Regions from separate parts of the Homo sapiens genome. Here all the other regions are linked to region 4. The links are contacts of gene promoters, found by promoter capture Hi-C in blood cells and fetal thymus (Javierre and others, 2016). All regions are on one chromosome and are shown on one strand. Each heading gives the region's core, a stretch centred on a gene start or on the middle of the fragment in contact. The rest is flanking DNA. Distances are from core to core; before and after follow the strand shown. Region 1 overlaps ADD3 (adducin 3). Region 2 overlaps SMC3 (structural maintenance of chromosomes 3). Region 3 has its middle 6.2 kb from the start of SMC3. Region 4 holds the start of SMNDC1 (survival motor neuron domain containing 1). Region 5 overlaps ADD3 (adducin 3). Region 6 overlaps ADD3-AS1 (ADD3 antisense RNA 1). Region 7 overlaps SMC3 (structural maintenance of chromosomes 3).

Region 1 (2,893 bases), core at 6-2,505, 270 kb after region 4:
CTGCATTTTACATGGAACACAAACTAAAGATGCATTCTGGGACTGCCCTGAGAACCAAACAATTGTATGGCGACATGAACATATTCTCTTTATCCTCTTTATATTAAATTTGCTAGATGACCAATTTAAACAATACTTCAAATGCTGTGCTTGAATTCTGCTTACATCTATTCTGCTATTAGTCTGTTGGCATCTAACACTGGATCAGAAAAGACTGCCATCTGGTAGTTATAGCAGCCCTTCACTAACTTGGTCAGAAGTTGAAGACCATAAGCCTCAGAGAAATGCAAACCAAGTTTATTACTATGAATATATCAAAATCTTCTTTTTGTAAAGCCATTCAACAGGGTTTTTCATTCAAAGAGAAACACTGTGCTCACACACATTATATAATCGACCTATAAAAGTCAGGTTTTAAAGGAGTTAAAGGGATGAATGATTAAATTAAATGAGTAATTAGGTCCACATTCCCCTCACCCACAAGGCTGCCACTGTCTCTTTTATAAAGCCTAGGGATGAGAGCCAAATTGGCTCTATTTAAATTGGCTATTTAATTTAACTCTAACTTCTCTTAATCATAATGTGTGTGTTCTTGGGTACAAATTTTTTCCTCTCGATAAAGTTTCTGGTAGGCAATACTTTAGATGAAGAGAAATAATTAACAGTATAAAAACAATAACAACATGTATACAGCATATGAGCACGCACAAAGTGTTTTCAAACTTAGCATGATCTTAATCAGGAAGGAAAGCCAGAGAAGTATTAATAGAATAGCGATTATTTCAGATTCTAACACTTTCATAAGGTTACACACTTAGGGTAATGGTAGAGCTGAGAAAGCTGAATCCACACCACCTAGTCAGAAATTCTCTTTCTAGCATACTATACTCTTTCCTGAAATAGTATTTTACAGTTTACATAGCTCTTAGTATTATAAATACAATATGCATGTACATGTACAAATACTATGCACTCTGAATTTGCCCAAGTATCCCTGCTGCCCACTTCCCCAGTCTGGTTTTACTCCCTTTTTCCTTTTTTGTCCTTCCTTTTCTCTCCTTATCTTTCCAAAGTCACCACCACTTGCTTGAGCCTGAATGAAGGCAGAAGTGGATGAGTGAATGCAGGATCCACCCTTTAAGAGCACTCATGATTTGTGATCACATCTATTCTAACTTAGAGACTAGCATGCCAACACATGGACTATTTCTCCGAGCTCTCATTCTTAATGCAACAATGTCAAGGACATGGCCATTAAGAGATGACCTAGGATTACATAACACTTATCCAGCTTAATATGCTTATTCTATCCCATTATTTTACTTCAACCCTCTTTGTCTATAAAAATCTCTTTCCTTATATGGCCAGTCTCTGAAGTCCAAGATTTGATATTCCTGGCATTTAGCAAAGGAGACTCTTCTTGTATCTCTTCCTGAAGGCATCTGAAACATTTTTTGTGACTGATTTTCCAGGTGAGAAAGTCATAGGCTTGATCTATACCGTTCAACTGGCTGCCAATAAGATTAAATCTCTTTGAAGTTGCTAAGAGGGGAAACTTTAAATGTTATCACAAAAAAAAAAAAGTATTGAGGTAATACATATGTCAATTAGACTGATTTATGCATTCTCATAAATCATATTCTAAAACCTTATGTTCTAAATGTATACGTATTCCAAATCATGTTTTAGATAATACATACATGTAACTTTTGTCAATTTTTAAAAGTTACTTAAAAAAAAAAAATAGCTCATGTCTCTTCATTAACATCTAGGCCACTCACTAGGTACCAGATAGGGTAGGAGGGTGGCGCATTAAAGTCATCCACCAAGACAAAGGAAAACAACTTAAGGATCCTAAGTACTGATCAGTCAACACCATTTGCCAAGAAACTCCTTTATAAACAGTACTCCGCTTCATGTTAAAGGACACACATGGAAATGAAAACATAGGGGAGTATAATACAGCTGAAAGAACACTGGTTCTAGAACCAGGCTGGCTTAGGTTGGAATTCCATTCTGCCACCTACTAGTTGCCACTTACCCAGAGCAAAGTCACAATGTATCTGAATCTGTTTCTTCGTAATTTAGAATATAAATCCGGTGGAACTGATGTGAGGATTCATGATTTTACCTAAAGTACCTAGCACTGTACCTTGCACATGGCAGGTGCCCAATGGATAGTAGCCATAAATTTATTTTTTATTTTGATTTTTTGAGGGACAGAGTTTTGCTCTTGTTGCCCAGGCTGGAGTGCAATGGCACAATCTCAGCTCACTGCAACCTCCCCCTCCGGGTTCAAGGGATTCTCCTGCCTCAGTCTCCCGAGTAGCTAGGACTACAGGCATGCGCCACAACGCCCAGCTAATTTTGTAGTTTTAGTAGAGACAGTGTTTCCTCATGTTAGTCAGCTGGTCTCGAACTCCCGACCTCAGGTGATCCACCTGCCTCGGTCTCCCAAAGTGCTGGGATTACAGGCGTGAGCCACCGTGCCTGGACTTACAAATTTATTTTTATCACCTGTTTTCAAGAAGCTGGTCAGGAGTCACCAACCATTAAAGATAGTGGGTGGAGCAAGTGGTTTGGTTTCGTTTTTTAAACTTCATCAATGGGAGAGTTAGAGAAGGAGTAGAGGTTGCTTGTAGGCAATAGCTCTCAAAACAGCACTGTAATACAAATTGGACGAGCCAAGTCAGCTGGAATAGCTGTAGCCAATGTAATCAATATATTAAAAAAAGTTATTTTATGTTCTTTTTCTTGTACTAGGTCTTTGAAATCTGTATATTTTTATAATTGCAGCACATCTCAATTAGGACTAGCCACATTTCAAGCGATAAACAGCCACACACAGCTAGTGGTTACCATAATGTCAGTGGAACTCTATAATTCTGGCACC
Region 2 (3,121 bases), core at 153-2,652, 270 kb before region 4:
TCTCTTAATAGCTTTAATCTCTGAGAATCTGGTGCTGTTGCCATCTGGTTGATCTAAAATTTTTAGAAAAATAATCATTACATAGCTGTAGCCTCCGTTTAAGAAGAAGAACTCCACGTTGAAAGGTTTTTAATACACATGAAGGTTGGGTATCCCTTATGCAAAATGGTTAGAAACCAGAAGTGTTACAGATTTTAGATTTTTTCAAGTTTTGGAATATTTGCATTTATACTTACCAGATGAGCAACCCAAATCCAAAAATTTGAAATCCAAAATGTTCCAACAAGCATTTCCTTTGAATGTCATGTCCACACTCGAAAGGTTTCAGATTGTAGAGCATTCTGTATTTCAGACTTTTGAATTTGGGACATGCCAAGTTTTAAACAGATTATGATTTGGCTAATGTCATTTGTATAGTACGCATGCCTACATATCTATGTCTCCTTTACTTAAATGAAATTTACCAAATAAAATCCAAATACAACTGTTACGGTCATAACTCTCCTTTATGAATAGGGCTAACAAGTGAAGGAGTATCTCACACCACCATCTTTTTCTTAGTCAATATGATAAGGTATAAAAGATGAGCTCCATTCTCAAAAAACAAAGTATTTTTATAAGGGAAAACCATCACTGACTACACTTTTTTTTAAAGCTACAATAATATATTAAAAGTCAATTCTTCCTCAGTTTCCATGGGGATTGGTTCTAGGACCCCCTGCAGGTACCAAAATCCAAGGATGCTCAAGTCCCTTATATAAAATGGCATAGTATTTGCATATAACCTATGCACATCCTTCCATATACTTTAATATCTAGATTAATTATAATAATACAATGTAAATGCTATGTAAATAGTTTTACTGTATTTTTAAATTTGTATTATTTCTTATTGTACTGTTTTAAAATTTTATTTATTTTAAATATTTTTGATCCATGGTTGGCTGAACTTGCAGATGTGGAACCTACAGATACAGAAGGCTAATGATATGACAAAAATGGTATGCTTTAAATATAGAGAGAATGGTACAACTTAAGTGCCATGCAACTTAATATATAACAAGTATCCCTAAATGTCAAAAATGATATCACTGCATTAAAAAATTGAAATTATCTCTACGAAAATAGGTCTATCAAAAGTATCTACATCAAAGAATCATCCTTCAGATCCTCATTATTGAACGCTCCAATTATACATATTGGTTCATGCAATTTCCTCACTTAAAAATTATTTTTCAAATGGCTACAACATATGTGCCACTGCTGGGCACTGGAAAAGAGCAAACAAAGCAGAAAAGGTCCCACCCTCATGGAGCTTACATTCTAATGGAAAAAGACAGAAAATAAGTACTATCCTAACAGTGTAAGTGTTATGAAGAAAAATAAAACAGATTAAGGAAATAAAGCACATAGGGTTGAGGGGACGGCAATGCTTTCAGATGAGGCAATCAAGGATGGCATACGGGCAGAAACTGAAATGAAGTAAAAGGGCCTAGATTGACAGCAGACGGATCTCAGAAAAGTGCTCTTTCAAATCAGCCTCCATTTAAAAAAATTTATCTCCCACAAATAGTTAAATCGGAAAAAAACGTGTTCTTCCAGTAACACATTTTCTAAAACTGAAACTCCATATTCTTCCTAATCACTTCTTCTAAATGCTAACTTTCCAATACATATCTAGAAAAAAAGGCCTACAGTATAAAATAAGTGAATATTCTTTGAGAATTTTCCCTAGTCCAAAAAAAAAGTGAAAGTATATGAGAAGAGAGCAGAACAATCAGCTAAAAAAGTTTGTAGTTTGGCTGCTGAAAAAATGTAAAAACATAATCCCTATTAGGGAAAATAACATGTGGCAAAATGGCAGATTTCTGGTAATGTTAGCTTTTCAGTATTTTAATTGTGATAAATAATTAGGTAACACAAAATATTAATTTTAGAAAGTTTTTCAAATGTGATTTTTATAGAATTCCTACAATATTCTTAATTATTGCAACATTCATAAGCCAATAATGTCTTCCCATACTTTCACCTCAGTAAGTAATACCAGTCACTAGGAAAACAAGATCCACTTAATATGCTGAAATACTTCCATCTCAACATGCAATGGACCTATTTGGTACTTTATGGCCATGTAAAAGAATATGGCCATTTTTGCTTCAGCTTAACCACTCAAATCAATAAACCAAATTCATCACTCAAGAATTACTCAGAAAACAAATTCTACTTAAAAAGGACATACAATTGTTTTACCTTTCCTTGTTTAACAATATAATAAGGATTGCTTCGAGAAAAACCAGCGCTTTCAAGGAGGTTCATCACATCATTTTTCCTGTTGACAAACAATGAAATTACTTTCCGATAAATAATTTTAAAGCACCATTAAGCAATGAGTAGAGTAGCCCCTTGGTTGATAGCATTAGGGAGGAAAGATCAGTAATTAAACCATCTGTATCATCCTCAGAACTTTCTGATTCTTATGTTTATCCTCTATATGTTGACTTGTTGAAGATGAAGCAAATATTCCTCATATATGAAGCAGGTAAAAGAATACTTTTTACTCTTTTGTAAGGAAATCATAAAATTGCGGGCTGGGCGCAGTGGCTCATGCCTCTAATCCCAGCACTTTGGGAGGCCAAGGCAGGCAGATCACAAGGTCAAGAGTTCGAGACCAGCCTGCCAACATGGTGAAACCCCGTCTCTACTAAGAATACAAAAAGTAGCCGGGTGTGGTGGTGACTGCCTGCAATCCCAGCTACTCAGAAGGCTGAGGCAGCAGAATAGCTTGAACCCGGGAGGTGGAGGTTGCAGTGAGCCGAGACTGCGCCACTGCACTCCAGCCTGGGCGACAGAGCAAGACTCCGTATTGAGAAAAAGAAAAATGCTGGCTGGGCGTGGTGGCTCATGTCTGTAATCCTAGCACTTTAGGAAGCCGAGGTGGATCATTTGAGGCCAAGAGTTCGAGACCAACCTGGCCAACACAGCAATACCCCATCTCTATTTAAGTACATATTCAGTTTTTTTAAAAAAAAGAAAAATGCTTACGTGACCATCTTCTTGTCTAAGAAATACTGATCCTTTTTGGCACCAATAACTCTTCGAAGTGAAACTTCCTCTTTATCGA
Region 3 (2,983 bases), core at 173-2,672, 260 kb before region 4:
CTCAAAAAAGAGAAAAAAATCCATTTTGACTGTGTGCTCATTGGTCAGGGAAATTGCCGCAGGATGGGTTTATGGACCTAGTGCAACGAATGTGAAACAGACTTGAGCCAGGACTTCATGTATCACCTGGCCTTTGTACACCTCCACTGGATCAGGGGAGCCATAAACATGTTTGAGCTCAGTGTCAGCTCAGATCCTATGTCCAACAGCACTCAAAAGATCTGGGTGTTCCCCTTTTCCTAGGGTTCAGTTACTCTGTTAAGTTTTAGGGTCAGATTGAAAGAAATGATACTGAATATACCCAAGGAGAAAATACACCTTCCTTGGGACTCAGCTTCCCCTTCAGTTGATGGGCTGTGGTGTGAGATCTGCCTCCCGTACATAAACTGGATGAGGGGTTGAGACTTTCCATTGCAGGGACTGACATCAGCTTGTGCTCGCTCAAGCCTAATCTAATTTGGTATGTAAGTGAAGATGTACACACCGTCACTGGCTGCCAACTTATCTTACTCCTAGAACAACATGGTCTATGAACCATAGCCACAAACCCCTATGGGTTATAGACTTAAACACGTCCTAAGACAAAATTATAATGAATTTAGTTTAAAGATCTTAATTGGCTTTACTTGTGATTCTAGAATCAAGCAACACCTCATTCTATGAAAAAGAATGCACATTCTGGTGAGTTGAGCAGAAGATCATGGCTTTCTAGATAGAAAAGGGCTGAGGAAAGCAGACAGAAAACAAAACACAGCTGTTTCAAAGTTGCTCTCCTTGTAAAGGTTAAAGCAGAGGAAGCTTCCTCATCATGCTGGCTAAAACAGGCCTATTTGGGAATTTGGCTATTTTCTCTCTCTCTTGATTTCTTGAAAGTTCAGATAAACAACTTAGTTTTGGCATGGTGTTGTGGAACTTCAATATGAGTAAATCCATTTTGGTTTGGTCTGTTGGGTCTAGTGCAGGAGCTCCATGAAAACCAATGACTTTCTATAAATTTTATTTAGCAAACCTAGGAGCTAAAACTACAAGACCCCCAGATGGAAACATAGGAGTAAATCGTTGTGACCTTGTGTTGGCAGTGGTTTCTGTAATGCATTGCCAAAGCAAAGTAACACACACAAAGATTAATTGTACTTCCTCAAAACTGTTGTTCACTAACAGAAGTGAAAAGATATAGACTGGGAGAAAATATTTGCAAATTGTATACCTGACAATTTACGTGTGTGTGTGTGTGTGTGTGTGTGTGTGTGTGTGTGTGTGTATATATATATCCAAAATATATAAAGAACTCTCACAACTCAACAATAAAAGACAAACAACCCACTTTAAAAATGGGCAAAAGATTTGAATACACATTTCTCCAAAGAAGATAAACAAATGGCCAATAAACGTGTGAAAAGATGCTCGACATCATTAGTCATCAGAGGAATGTCAATCAAAACCACAGTCAGATACCACTTCATACCCACTAGGATGGCTAAAATAAAAAGGCAGACAATAACAGGTGTTGGCTGGGATATGGAGAAATTGAAAGCCTCGTATGTTGCTGGTGGGATTGTAAGATGATGCAGCCACTTTGGAAAACATTTAGGCACTTTCCAGAATAGGAAAATCCACAGAGACAGAAAACAGTTCAGTGGCTGCCTGGGGCTGGGGATTGGAAGGGAAGGTTTGAAAATGGAGTACAGGTTTGTTTTTTAGGGGAGGAAAGGGAGTGTTGAAAATATCCTAAAATTATATTGTAATGATGGTTGCATGACTTCTTGAATATAGTGAAAATAACAACTCCATATTTTAAATGGGTAAATTTTATTGTATGTGAAATATATCTTAATAAAGCTGGAAAAACCTAGGAAAATATTTCAACAGTGAATCTTTGAACCATACCGATACTTAGACCATGTACAGATGATAATGTGTAGATTATCTAAGTCATTCTTGAACTATTTCATAAAATATAACAGTGCTGTATATAATTGAAATACATCATAATTTCAAATGTGCTATTGAAATCTCAGGTTTAGATCGTCTTTACACAAAGCTTCAGCTATTTAGATTAATGCAGAAATCCAAATTCTGGCATAGATTCAAATATGCCAGGTTCCAGATTCCCAATTTTTCACTCAGTAGTAACTGTATCACTAGAAAGTTAAACACAAAACTACATTATTTAACAGTAACGTAAGCTGATACATTTTCTGGTTTAAATTATCTTTTATAATTTAAAAGATATTTAATACAAAATCCCTAAATCTAGTATAAGTATTTTTGGGAGAAAGCAATGAAATGCAAAAAACAAGTTACTAGGAAAAGGGAGGTTTGGCCAGGCATAGTGGCTCATGCCTGTAATCCCAGCACTTTGGGAGGCCAAGGTGGGTGGATCACGAGGTCAAGAGATCGAGACCATCCTGGCCAACATGGTGAATACCCATCTCTACTAAAAATATAAAAATTAGCTGGGCATGCTGGTGCACACCTGTAGTCCCAGCTACTCAGGAGGCTGAGGCAGGAGAATCGCTTGAGCCCGGGAGGCAGAGGTTGCAGTGAGCCGAGATCGTGCCACTGCACTCCAGCCTAGGCAACAAGAGCAAGACTCCATCTCAAAAAAGAAAAAAAAAAAAAAAAAGAGACGTGAACTACAGACACATGCCGTGACGTGGCTGAATCTCCAAAATATTATATTGAGTGTGGCCGGGGGCGGTAACTCATGCCTGTAATCCGAACACTTAGGGATGGAGAGGTGTAAGGAACGCTTGAGCCCAGAAGTTTGACACCAGCCTGGGCAACATTGCAAGACCCCATTCTCCACAAAAAGGAAAAAATATATGTATTCTACTGAGTGAAAACAGCTTTCCCCTGATGAATACACACTGTGTAATTCTATGTATATGAAGTTCTTGAACAGGTGAAAAGCATCTATGGTGGAAAAAAATCAACTCTGTCTGACAATGAGGGCATATAGGTTAAAAAAAATCAGAAAAGT
Region 4 (3,010 bases), core at 98-2,597:
AACAAAAGGGAAGGCTCCTTGAAAAGAAAACTAGGAACTAAAGATGTTGGCACAGTTCAAAAGAGCCCATCTGAGAAGTGGGCCTTTTTTTTTTTTTTTGAGACGGAGTTTCACTCTTGCTGCCCAGGCTGGAGTGCAATGGCACGATCTCGGCTCACCGCAACCGCCGCCTCCAGGTTCAAGCGATTCTCCTGCCTCAGCCACCCGAGCAGCTGGGATTACAGGAATGCACCAACATGCTCGGCTTTTTGTTGTTGTTGTTGTTGTTGGTTTTTTTTTTTTGTATTTTTAGTAGAGACGGGGTTTCTCCACGTGGTCGAGCTGGTCTCGAACTCCTGACCTCAGGTGATCCGCGAGAAGTGGGCCTTTTTATGGATCCAGCAACAAACTCCCAACCTCCCAGGAAAGGTTGCTTCCTGTCATCTATATAAAACTTTGTGTCTCAGGCCTTTATTGCTTTTTTAATTGAAATAAATTATATATATATGGTTTAAAAAAAAAAGAAAAGGAAAAAGGGTAAACAGCAAAGAGGGTAATCAATAAAACATTTGGCTTCCACTCCAAACCTCTGAACAGTTTTGTGTATCCGTCCAGAAAGCGTATATATTATTACAAACATACACAAGGGGCATTTCTTTTTGAACACAAATGTGAGTATTCCTACCACTCTTTACCATTCTAGACTAACTTGGACGTTGTTCCCTATCAGGCGAGATTAACCCAACTAAATTAAAACCAAGTAGGTTTTAACAAAACAGATTTTAAAGAAATCAATCTTCTCTCCAATAGGTTATTTCTGTCACGATTTAATTAGCTTTCTGTTACTACTAAGGCTTGTATCATATAAAGTAGTGGTTCTCAGGCTGGGCGCGGTGGCTCACGCCTGTAATCCTAGCATTTTGGGATGCCGATGCAGGAGGATAGCTTGAGCCCAGGAGCTGGAGACCAGCCAGGGCAACGTAAAGAGAGCCCCCACCAACACCCCCCGCCACCCACCACCACCGCCCCGGAAAAGCAGTGGTTCTCAAACGTCAGCGGACATTGGTATCATCTGGTGAGCTTATTAAAACAAGAGTCTCTGGATTCAGGAGGTCTGGGGTGGGGCTTGAGAATTTGCATTTCCAATAAATTCCAAGCCGGAACTCCAGGAAGATAACCTGCATTCCGCGCCTGGCGAAGCCCAGCTACGCCATTTCCTTCCTAGGCCCCGCCTACTTCGTGTCCCTGACAGCCAGGGACTGGCTAGAGGGCGCGCGGAGTCACGTGAGTCGAGCGACCTCGCGCGAGAGTTTGTATTTCTCGCGAGACTTCACCGTCTCTGTCTTTTCCTCCTTCCAGTGCCCGGCGTTCCTCCCTTCCCCCTCGCCGCCGACCGAGTTCTTCCTTTTCAGACCGGGTCGCCTTGCTGTCGTCGCGGTGATTTTCCTGCTACTGCTACTGCTGCTGCTGCCACCGCCACTACCACTGGGCTCATTTGCCCCGACCCCTTCCCGCCGCCCCGCCCCCAGCCCCACACAAGGTAACAACCCCCCTGAGGGAGAGAGTAAGGCCTGGCCGGGCCCGGGTCCCTCCCGAGGTGAAGCGGAGGCCCAAGGCTGAGGAGCCCGCCTCGCCGGAGACGCCCAGGCGCTGGCCCTGGATCCCGGAGCCACGGCCGTCTCTCAGCCAGAGCTGAGCCTCGGCGGCCCGGCCGGCGCTGGCCTCCGTGCGGCGGCGGCAAACACGGCCCGCAGGGGACCGGGTCGGGTGGGGCTGGGCGCCGCGCGGCTCCCTGTGGAGCCTGCCTGTTGGAGCGCGGCGGGGCTCCGGCGGTGGTCTTGGAGCTGGCGTGTGGATTTCCACGTCCGAATGATCGAGTTGTGGCGGGCTTTGAGGTGCTGCGTGGCGGGGAGGAGAGCAGCCTGGGTCGCTGTAACTCTTAGGGGGCCTTTGCAGGCTCCCAGCCTTTGGTTGGACGGGAATTTTACGAAGGAGAAGGGTCCTCGGAAACGTGGTACATTTGCTTATAAACCATCAAAAAAGGTTAATTGGTATCTTATTTTCAGGAAAATGACTGAGCTGGATTTGGCGAAAGGCACATTCGTTAGAATGCCTAAATGGGAGAGTACCTGTGCTGTTCTTTTTGCTGAAGATAATGCACCGATAAATATTTAAGCGACTGGGCGAAAGATTTTTGTTTTGGAGAGGCACTTTTAAATACACTCTTAATTGAATAGTTCAAGTAAAGATCGTAGTTTGTGTAGTTAATTTAAAAACGCACTTGTTTGGCTTTGGAAGCATACTGTAGTGCTTAAAAATAAGTATTTGGATTGTTTTTGAAAGTTTCGACTTTTCCAACAGAGTAGTGCTTTTTAAAAAGATAACACTGATTATTGAGCCGAATTCAGCACCTACCCTGTGGATAGGAGTTAAAAGAAAATTAGAAATTTCTTTGTATCTGTATGCTTTTTTAAAGTATGGAATGTATCTCAAGTTTATAATCCTCAGAATCTGTTGCCTTTAAGTTTGTGGTTTAGCTGAAGTCTAAACTGAGAGTAAAGGTAATGGTGGTAAATTAAGCTGCAGTGTTAGAAGGAGTTAGAGGCAAAAACTGGTAATTCAGGCAGACAGGGGAGTTAGTTTTTTATGCCTTGATTTTTGGTTTAGTTTTCATGGTCTAACCCTTTTTATTTTCCCTAGATGTCAGAGGATTTAGCAAAGCAGCTGGCAAGCTACAAAGCTCAGCTCCAGCAAGTTGAAGCTGCATTATCTGGAAATGGAGAAAATGAAGATTTGCTAAAATTGAAGAAAGATTTACAAGTAAGTATGGGTAGACAATTGTACTTTTTCTCTGTTTTTCAAATTATTGCTTGAATCCCTAAGTACCCAAAGCGCCTTTTGAGGGGTTACACCCCACCCTATGTATATATGTAAATTCTGTAGGTACCATTGCTTGTAGAAGTAGGGTTGCTTCCCCAGTTCTCAGGTTTCTGTACATCAGAGTGAAATATTGTTCTTTGTTATATAAATC
Region 5 (2,852 bases), core at 36-2,535, 290 kb after region 4:
TCTCCAACCTGATTGCTTTTACATTGTTTGAGTTCCACCTCCTCTAGTAGGTAACCAACAAACCACCACAGAGGCAGAGTTAAACAGGCTGAGTCACTCACATCAGCACTCTCCTCTTTCATTCCATCTGAAAAGGTGAGCACTTCCTTTGGTGAGGGAGGGGAAAGTAAGAAATCACAAGAATAAATTTAAAGAGGTATGGAAGCTTAAAAAAATAATTTCGTGTATATTACTTGGAGTTAGGTTATCCTGCTTAATCCACTGCTTGCCTTAACGTATCTGTGATCACTGTTATTTTATTGTTTCACTAATATAGTATACTTCTTGAGACACTGGTTTTAAAGACATTATGTTACTGTCCTTAAATTTCTCAGAAGTGTTTTTACCTCCTAGCTGGTTGAGGGAAATGTTTATCCTATGGAAATTGCATATGCCCACTGCAGAAAAAATTGAGTTTCATAACCCTAGATTAAAACCTTAGCCTTGGCCGAGTGCAGTGGCTCACGCCTGTAACCCCAGCACTTTGGGTAGCCGAGCGGGGAGGAACACTTGAGGTCAGGAGTTCAAGACCAGCCTGGCCAACATGGCAAAACCCCATCTCTACTAAAAATACAAAAATGAGCCGGTAGTGGTGGCAGGCGCCTGTAATCCCAGCTATTCAGGAGGCTGAGGCAGAAGAATCGCTTGAACCCAGAAGGCAGAGGTTGCAGTGTGCCGAGGTCACACCACTGCCCTCCTGCCTGGATGACAGAGAGAGACTCCATCTCAAAACAAAACAAAACAAAAACCTAAAAATCCAAAAAAACCGTAGCCTTGTTTGAAGAGGTAGTCATCTTAAATGCCAGTTTATGTACCGTATACAAACCAATCTCCTCAGGCCCATTTTCATTGAAAGAAAAAAAAAAGTAAACATAACATATGGTGCTGATGCAGATCAGTCTGACTTCAAGTAAAGGCTCAATTTAGATCTAACCTTACCTTAAAGATATAAACCAGGCCTGTGGCTCATGCCTGTAGTCCCAGCTACCTGGGAGGCTGAGGTGGGAGGATGGCTTGAGCCCAGGAGTTCGAGACCAGCCTGGGCAACATAGTGAGAGCTGTCTCAAAAATACAAAAGAAGAAAAAAAAAAAAGATATAAACATATGCCAAGGCCTATACATCTTGTACAATAACGGTTCAGCTTTTAGTGGAGTTAAAACTAAGCAATATTATCTTCAAGAAACAAACTTACAAGAACAGTAAGCCTTTTAAAATCAAAGAGAGGTTTCATCCATTTTATACCTTTTGGTGATCATGCTACTACTATTTGGATTATGCTAGACAACTCTGAAAGCCACATTCATTCTTTAAGGTTTCTAGGATACTCTAAATGTATTCCTTCAATGCAGTTAAGTAATGTCCTAGAAGCCTGAAAGGAATTGTTAACGCAGCTTTTCAAACATACTCAACCAAAAACAGTTTAAGGAAACAAGGGGCTCTGATTCTCATTATCTGTGCTACCATCTAAGACTTTAAGTTAAACAGTACTTTCTTAACATTTAACATGTTTTCAACTGGCAATTCAATTTTGAACTTTGAGACTGGTCCAGATATTCAGCAACATTAAAATACACATGAAATAAATAAAAGATCCACAAACCTTTTTTCTCCAACACTTTTTTCCCACATAAAGGTATTACTCTATGCATACTGTTGGTACTCAATAAATATTACATTAATACACCAGGTGAATAATTTTTAACTTTACCTAAAAGGAAGAGAATCCCTCAAGTAGCATGGTTTGACATACGTATACATAGACACACACATCCATAATTAGCTACTGCAAGAATAAAAAATAATCATATTCATCTAAGGGATAACACACTTTTTCGTTCAAGCAACAGCCAATGAAAGACTTCTAACCTGTATGTTTTAGAGGATTCTTGATATATACAACCCATTACAGTAAAAAATTACAGTAAAAATTTGAGACTGTCTTGGCATTTGGCCAAGAGAACTGAATCTCTGGCAGAACCTGAAAGACCTCATAACAATCTCACCTATAAACACTCTGGCATGGACCCGGAGTTCAAACCATAGAGTATTAACAAAGAAGACATAAAGTATTAAGGCACTTATTTTGAATCTCAATGACATGACAGTCTAGGACTGTCCAATTAATTTTAAATTGGGTTTAAATAACTTCAAATAGGTCTACGTTTAAAAGGAAGAATAGCACTCGATTAGATATTTAAAGTTTTTTTAAAAATTCAAACTCTACATATTTAATATTTTCAAAGGAATCTGAAAAGCACTAATTATAACAAAAACAGTGTTTAGTGTGAGAAACAGATTAGTAACCTGTGTCTTCAATAAAGCTTGCACTTTCTCAATTCAACGCATGCTTGTTTTTAAACATTTTTTCCTAACATTACATTGCACTAAGTTGTCAAATGACATTTCATCTATCTACAATAATTCTAAACATTACTTAAAACAGCTCCTAATTTAGTTTATAATTTGTTTGACATATCAACTACAATGGTGAAGCAGCAACACACAGTTCCTTGAGGAATGTGAATGACAAAGTATAAGCCACAAGTTACATCTTTGCATTTAGGGTTCATTTTAGGAAGCAACTCAGGTGGTATTTAGAACAAACTTAAGTTAAAATTTATCTCAGGTTGATATGATGTTGGTAATCAGAAAGGTGATAAGGTTTACTGATTTACTGCAGAACTGGAATCTCCAATGGGAATTAGTGCCCTCTGGGCCACCTGGGGCCCTACATATCTGGTAAGCTTCAAAAAAAAAAAAAAAGACTTTAGTATCTTTAGTAATTAGAAAGATAGCACACTCTAGCACAAAC
Region 6 (2,821 bases), core at 211-2,710, 310 kb after region 4:
AGCTGTGGACTTGAACGAATCACTTAATGATTCTAAACTTCTGTTTCCCTATCTGTAAAATGGATATGGGAGTCAAAGTATACATGTGTAGACTTGGAAGAGGACTGATCTAGCCTCTGACCCACTGCAGAAATATAATCTACATTACTCCTGACAGATAACCCATCATCCAACCTCCCATGAAAAGTGACTCATCTTCTTATGTTCCTTATGCTGAGCTAAGTTCTGCATCTTGGCACCTCCATTCATTGGTCTTGATTCTTTTCCTTGAAGTTCTGAGTTGGCAATGTGGATGGCAAGAGAAACAACAAAGTACAATGGAAAGAAAATCAGATGAATCTGAGTTTGAACCCCATCTTAAGCACTTTACTGGATATGAAATCTTGACGCAATTGCATCAGTTCTGTAAGGCTCAGTTTCCTCATCTACCTGACGGAGATATTGCAACTTACCTGACAAGTCTATTGGGAGGATTAGAAATAATTTCTAGGCCAGACACGGTGGCTCACGCCTGTAATTCCAGCACTTTGAGAAGCCAAGGCGGGCAGATCACGAGGTCAGGAGATCGAGACCATCCTGGCTAACACGGGGAAACCCCTTCTCTACTGAAAAATACAAAAACATTAGCCAGGCATGGTGGCGGGCGCCTGTAGTCCCAGCTACTCAGGAGGCTGAGGCAGGACAATGGAGTGAACCCGGGAGGCGGAGCTTGCAGTGAGCCAAGATTGCACCCCTGCACTCCAGCCTGGGCGACAGAGCAAGACTCTGTCTAAAAAAAAAAAAAAAAAAAAAAGATTTTCTATAAAATGCCTGCACATACAGAGTGCTTGGTAAAATTACAATTAAGAATTCTTTTCTTAGAATATATTGAAGTCAGTATTTCTTGGGGCCTGAGGTGTTTATGGCATGATTTCAGGTTCCTGTTATGATGATTTGTTCTGAAATGTTCTCAACTTTTCCCTTGTTCCTGTTTCAAATAAATAACCACTTTCTGTATATTGCCTTGCATTTTCCTTCTCAATAAAACCACCTTCTTTTGCTTGTACAATAGAAAAGAAGGAAGCTTAAACAGGGACTTAATGAAGCTGTACGCAAGTGTATGCTAACTAGTTAGAAAAAATCCATAGTGGAGGTAGAATTTAATCTTTACTTTGCAGCATGAGAGGCTTCTGAAATAAAGGATAGTTTGGAAAGGAGTTCAAATGTGCTCTGGGATAAGAGATTGTCGTAATGCAGGAAACATGCTAACTTTACTAAAGTGAAAGGAATTCCATGAGTTTAGGAGTGAGATAACCCAGAGCTGTGGACCTCACAGTCATTTGAAACTTCACAGAAAGTTTCCGTAGGAACAGAAGCTTCAAAACATCTCTTTTTGAACTTGTCCATAAGTATGAAAAATTAAAACATGTGCCTCTTTGACTAAAAAAAATCCATGGTAATGAAGTTACTGTGCGGAAATTCTTGTGTGAACATTTAAACAAGATAGTTACAAGGATGTTCACTGCCAGGTGGTTTCCAATGTCAAACAAACAAAACAACAGTGACAACAACAGTCTAAAGCTTTCAATAGAATAGTAAAAACAATGATAATGGATCCATAAAATGGAATACTATACAGCCTTGATGAAACATCATGTTAACCTGGTATGATGTCCATGATATATTGTTGAGGAAAAAAGTACGTTTTAGACCACTATATGATGAGCTATATTTGTATATATGTATCTATGTATGCATGGGCATGTGCATATATTTATGTGAGTATATAGATGTAAATATATGGTGTATGTATTTAGAAAAAAGTTTGGAAATCTGTACGAAAAACTTAACAGTAGTTAATTCTGAGGGGTGGGATTAGGAGAAAGAGATTTTCATTTTTTGCTTTAAATGTTTGGATATTTGAGTGCTTTTACATGTGCAAGTATTATTTGTATAATTTCAAAAAACAGTAAAATAAGAATAGCTAAATTCACAAACATATGTTTAAGCACTTGGTTACCTTTTCACAAAGTTCAGGAATCCTCACTTGGAGAATACCTTTTTAAAGGAAATAAATAAGTTAATATGTTTCCTTTGGATAAAAGTCAGAACTGAAAGACCATCTGGTTTAATACCCTAGAAAGACCCTCACCTATCTAAGCCCTCAAGACAAGAGAGGAATCTGGAACCCCTGACATCTAGGGTTCCTTTATATCCCTCCACAGCTTCCTTTGGATCTCAGATAGGGCAAAATGCCCTAACTGGCATATGACCATTATGAGTGTTTTTCTTGAAAGGAAGTGAGACTTGGTCATCAGATAATTTCCCACAAAAAACCTGATGTGTGCACTTGGAGCTTAGTACTGGTTACAGTGAATAAAGCTCTGTGGCCCAGGAGCTTGCCTGCTAAAGCTGGGCACTGCAAACATCTATCATCTAACATTTGCCAGATGCCAGTTCATTTGATTAAAAAACAGTGTTAATGAGCACTTGAGCTTAATTTTTTTCAAGGAGCCAAATTGCCTCATGCAAAGAAATATTCAACAACCACCCTGCATCACTAATTCCAGCCAATTGCTTCTCGAAATTGTTCCACTGGTTGTAAAAATTAGTGGAGTAGAGTGTGTAGTTGGTTAAGTTTATCCATTTGTTCATTCATTTATTCATTTATCTCTTCATTCAATTGTCAGCAGTAAACGTAGAAGTTAGCAGTCAGCTGGGGGCTTGGGGAGGTGGGTGGTGGGGGGGGAGTCCGAAACATTTGAGTTTAAATTCCTGCCCTGACACCTACTGGCAATAAAATCATGGCAATTTATGTAGCCTATCCAAGTCTTTGTTTTCT
Region 7 (2,995 bases), core at 123-2,622, 290 kb before region 4:
GAATCGGTGTTGGTAGTTTACATCTATGCAGTTTTAAAAATCAATTAAAATGCTTGATCAAAACATTAAATATGTAAAGGCAGTAAGATAAATATGGTAAGGCTAACAAGCTCAAACTCATAGCAATACTTACAACTAATAAGTAATGCTAATTAACTAAATTTTAAGGAAATGAAAATTTCTTGTATAATCCTAACCTAGCTAGATTGGTTTAGAAAAACAAAATCTTATTTACTCCTATGTATATTAAAAGTCCAAGCCTCATTTTAATATTTTCTCAGTTCTTTTCTTTCATATTGCCCTAGTTAGCAAGAAAGGCCCTTTTCACAATAGCCAATTACTAACGAATTCTTTTTCCAGTCAGCTGTCTACTTACCTGCTGAAGTTGACGAATCTCATCATTCAGTGCATCTACTCTCTTCTGATCTTCCAAACTCAGTTGAGAAAGCAAATCAGTTCCCAGTTCTGCTTTCAATGACTCTCTGGTAGACTCCATAGCATGCAAGCTTGCCTCCAAACTCTGTAAGCTACGTTGCTATATGACATTATCCATTTATTAGTAAGGTATTAGCCACTGTATTACTTATAGTGAAAATTTTAAAACAATCTATATTTGATTGAGCTAAATATATAGACATATCAACTCAAATATTAGGTGCCTATTAATTTGGTAATTAGGACTCTAGCAACAAGAAAAATATGATGTAATAGTATAGGTGGGGCAGGGTGGGGCAGATCATATTCCATGATTAAACTATACAAAAATCTTCAGGCATATTATAAGAACAAAAAGTTGCCGGGCGCAGTGGCTCACGCCTGTAACCCCAGCACTTTGGGAGGCCAAGGTGGGTGGATCACGAGGTCAGGAGTTCGAGACGAGCCTGGCCAACATGGTGAAACCCGTCTATACTGAAAATACAAAAATTAGCTGGGTGTGGAGGCACACGCCTGCAATCCCAGCTACTCTGGAGGCCGAGGCAGGAGAATTGCTTGAACCCAGGAAGTGGAGGTTGCAGTAAGCCGAGATCACGCCATTGCACTCCAGCCTGGGCGATAGGGCGAGACTCCATCCCCCTCAAAAAATAAAAAGTTGTCAGAATATGGTTGGGATGGTACAACTGTAGGCACATCTTTTTTTTTTTTTTTAAGCTCTTTGTAGTTTTAGTATTATACTAAGTAAAAGATTTGTCAAAACTGTCAAGTTTATGAGACCAATAACACACTATCACTTATAAGTTTGCTTTCTAATTTTAATACAATCTGGACAAAACGGAATCAAATATTCAACTAATTCCATTGTGCTTCAGATAAAAATGGTTACTGACAAAAACTGACCATCAGACAGTACTCTTATGTCACAGCTTCAAATGCCTATTTGTTCAATGAAGGTGGAAAGTTTGAACGTGCCAACAATAGGAGACTTTGGGTATCCATGGGTTTAAGAATGGTAAAATAGATGTAGATATCCAAAAGTATGGGTCTAGCCTGGGCACAGTGGCTCACACTTGTAATCCCAGCACTTCGGGAGGGCAAGGCAGGTGGATCATCTGAGGTCAGGAGTTTGAGACAAGCCTGGACAACATGGTGAAACCCCATGTCTACTAAAAACACAAAATTAGCCGGATGTGGTGGCGTATGTCTGTAGTCCCAGCTACTCAGGAGGCTGAGACAGGAAAATCGCTTGAACCCAGGAGGTGGAGGCTGCAGTGAGCTGAGAACGCACCACTGCACTCCAGCCTGGGTGAGACAGAAAGAGACTCTGTCTTCAAAAAAAAAAAGTATGGGTCCAAACAAAAATGAAACATAAAATTCAAGGATAACCCATATAATGTATGATTCATATTTCCATATTATTAATCTGTAACAATCGATCTATAACCAAAGATATACTTACGAACCTTAGGCATGAAGGTTTTCTCTGACTGCTGCCTCTTCTCTTTTAGCATCTTCATTTCTGATAATATGCTATCTCTAGATGCTTTAAATTTCCTTTGCTGGGTCTCGATCTGTTGCATTTGGTTCATCAACTGATCAATTTCATTATTAATCCATATACAAGGCTAAGGAAAATTATCTCCAGGTTGTAAATATATCGTATGTTCTTAATTCTTTTTAGACACAACACCATGTATCCCTTCCTTTTCTTTACCCCCAAATAACATTTATGTCCTCAAATTTATGGACCAAAACAATGCTGAACTATATTACCCAAAATGCATTCAATCATAAAGAAGCTTGAAACATTTCACCCCATTTCACTCTCAGAATAACATGTATACTGTTTTACTAAAAGTTATACAAAACAAATTCTTGGAAAACCATAAAGGAGGTTAGGTGAAATCTAACAATATTACATACTTTTAAATATCTTTTCATTCAACAAATGTTTACTGTTACTATGCTTAAGGCACTATGTTAAGGGTTTATGTATGAAGAGTTCTTGCCATGTGTGGAATAATTCAATCTAGCTGGATTATCAAACACAGGAAGACAGCTGGTATACACTGTCAACATCCTCCTTTTCCTCAGTATTTCCCCATACGCTCTTTGTGTTAACATCTTGCCAAATTCAGGCAGTTCTTTAAAGTGCGATATGCAGACCCCTGCAAGGTCAAAGCTCAGGTGCTTATTTTTCTTTTTCTGTGCTTGCACTGATGGCACAGAAGTTATAAATCTGCAGTTTTAAAAAAATTCCAGTTTCACCTGAAGCAGTTAAAAATCATTAACTTTATATCTATTCTTGATGCTCAAGTACCTATATTTTTCAACTTGTGTGGCAAAATGGAAAGCACACATAAAGTACTTCTTATACCAAAGCACCATGGTGGTTTTAAGAAAATCCACATATACAATTGTTTCATTTGTGAACTGAACTAACCACTCCTCATGCAGCACCATTTTTATGTAAAAAAAAAAACTATGGCTACTCCGACTTGGTTATCTGACAGCCATTTCCTCCACTAACATTAAATCTGCACCAAATAACTTCAAGACA

Evidence for each region. Contacts are between HindIII fragments. The CHiCAGO score rates a contact against its expected background, and 5 or more counts as called.
Region 1: a contact is called between a fragment that was not itself captured here and the fragment with the promoter of SMNDC1 in region 4, in 2 of 17 cell types (neutrophils and monocytes). The highest score is 7.6, in neutrophils.
Region 2: a fragment that was not itself captured here is called in contact with the fragment with the promoter of SMNDC1 in region 4 in 17 of 17 cell types (fetal thymus, naive B cells, megakaryocytes and 14 more); the score reaches 30.0 in fetal thymus.
Region 3: a fragment that was not itself captured here is called in contact with the fragment with the promoter of SMNDC1 in region 4 in 17 of 17 cell types (activated CD4 T cells, total CD8 T cells, fetal thymus and 14 more); the score reaches 67.6 in activated CD4 T cells.
Region 5: a contact is called between a fragment that was not itself captured here and the fragment with the promoter of SMNDC1 in region 4, in 6 of 17 cell types (neutrophils, monocytes, naive CD8 T cells and 3 more). The highest score is 14.1, in neutrophils.
Region 6: a contact is called between a fragment that was not itself captured here and the fragment with the promoter of SMNDC1 in region 4, in 4 of 17 cell types (neutrophils, activated CD4 T cells, total B cells and 1 more). The highest score is 9.5, in neutrophils.
Region 7: a fragment that was not itself captured here is called in contact with the fragment with the promoter of SMNDC1 in region 4 in 17 of 17 cell types (M2 macrophages, megakaryocytes, M0 macrophages and 14 more); the score reaches 114.2 in M2 macrophages.

Annotation. Positions count from the first base shown.
Region 1 is chr10:110,030,597-110,033,489 of GRCh38, reverse strand. The region is part of intron 1 of ADD3 (adducin 3); the gene reads right to left. Among named protein-coding and RNA genes, the nearest start is that of ADD3-AS1, 24 kb to the right of the region's middle. RefSeq lists a silencer at 1,045-1,339. The HindIII fragment of the contact is 5,269 bases long and covers 1-2,893 here.
Region 2 is chr10:110,577,836-110,580,956 of GRCh38, reverse strand. It overlaps SMC3 (structural maintenance of chromosomes 3), which reads right to left. Exons shown (of 29, transcript NM_005445.4): 6 at 3,043-3,121; 7 at 2,251-2,329; 8 at 1-53. Among named protein-coding and RNA genes, the nearest start is that of SMC3, 12 kb to the right of the region's middle. The HindIII fragment of the contact is 3,969 bases long and covers 1-3,121 here.
Region 3 is chr10:110,559,982-110,562,964 of GRCh38, reverse strand. No RefSeq gene overlaps it. Among named protein-coding and RNA genes, the nearest start is that of SMC3, 6.2 kb to the left of the region's middle. The HindIII fragment of the contact is 1,243 bases long and covers 801-2,043 here.
Region 4 is chr10:110,303,257-110,306,266 of GRCh38, reverse strand. SMNDC1 (survival motor neuron domain containing 1) reads left to right here and starts at 1,347. Exons shown (of 6, transcript NM_005871.4): 1 at 1,347-1,519; 2 at 2,680-2,799. The coding sequence starts at 2,680. RefSeq lists a silencer at 1,516-1,835. The HindIII fragment of the contact is 6,895 bases long and covers 1-3,010 here.
Region 5 is chr10:110,011,036-110,013,887 of GRCh38, reverse strand. The region is part of intron 1 of ADD3 (adducin 3); the gene reads right to left. Among named protein-coding and RNA genes, the nearest start is that of ADD3-AS1, 4.1 kb to the right of the region's middle. The HindIII fragment of the contact is 2,156 bases long and covers 208-2,363 here.
Region 6 is chr10:109,991,114-109,993,934 of GRCh38, reverse strand. All of the region lies in intron 2 of ADD3-AS1 (ADD3 antisense RNA 1), which reads left to right. Among named protein-coding and RNA genes, the nearest start is that of ADD3, 15 kb to the left of the region's middle. The HindIII fragment of the contact is 205 bases long and covers 1,358-1,562 here.
Region 7 is chr10:110,597,194-110,600,188 of GRCh38, reverse strand. SMC3 (structural maintenance of chromosomes 3) reads right to left here. Exons shown (of 29, transcript NM_005445.4): 20 at 1,899-2,050; 21 at 377-535. Among named protein-coding and RNA genes, the nearest start is that of SMC3, 31 kb to the right of the region's middle. The HindIII fragment of the contact is 1,728 bases long and covers 509-2,236 here.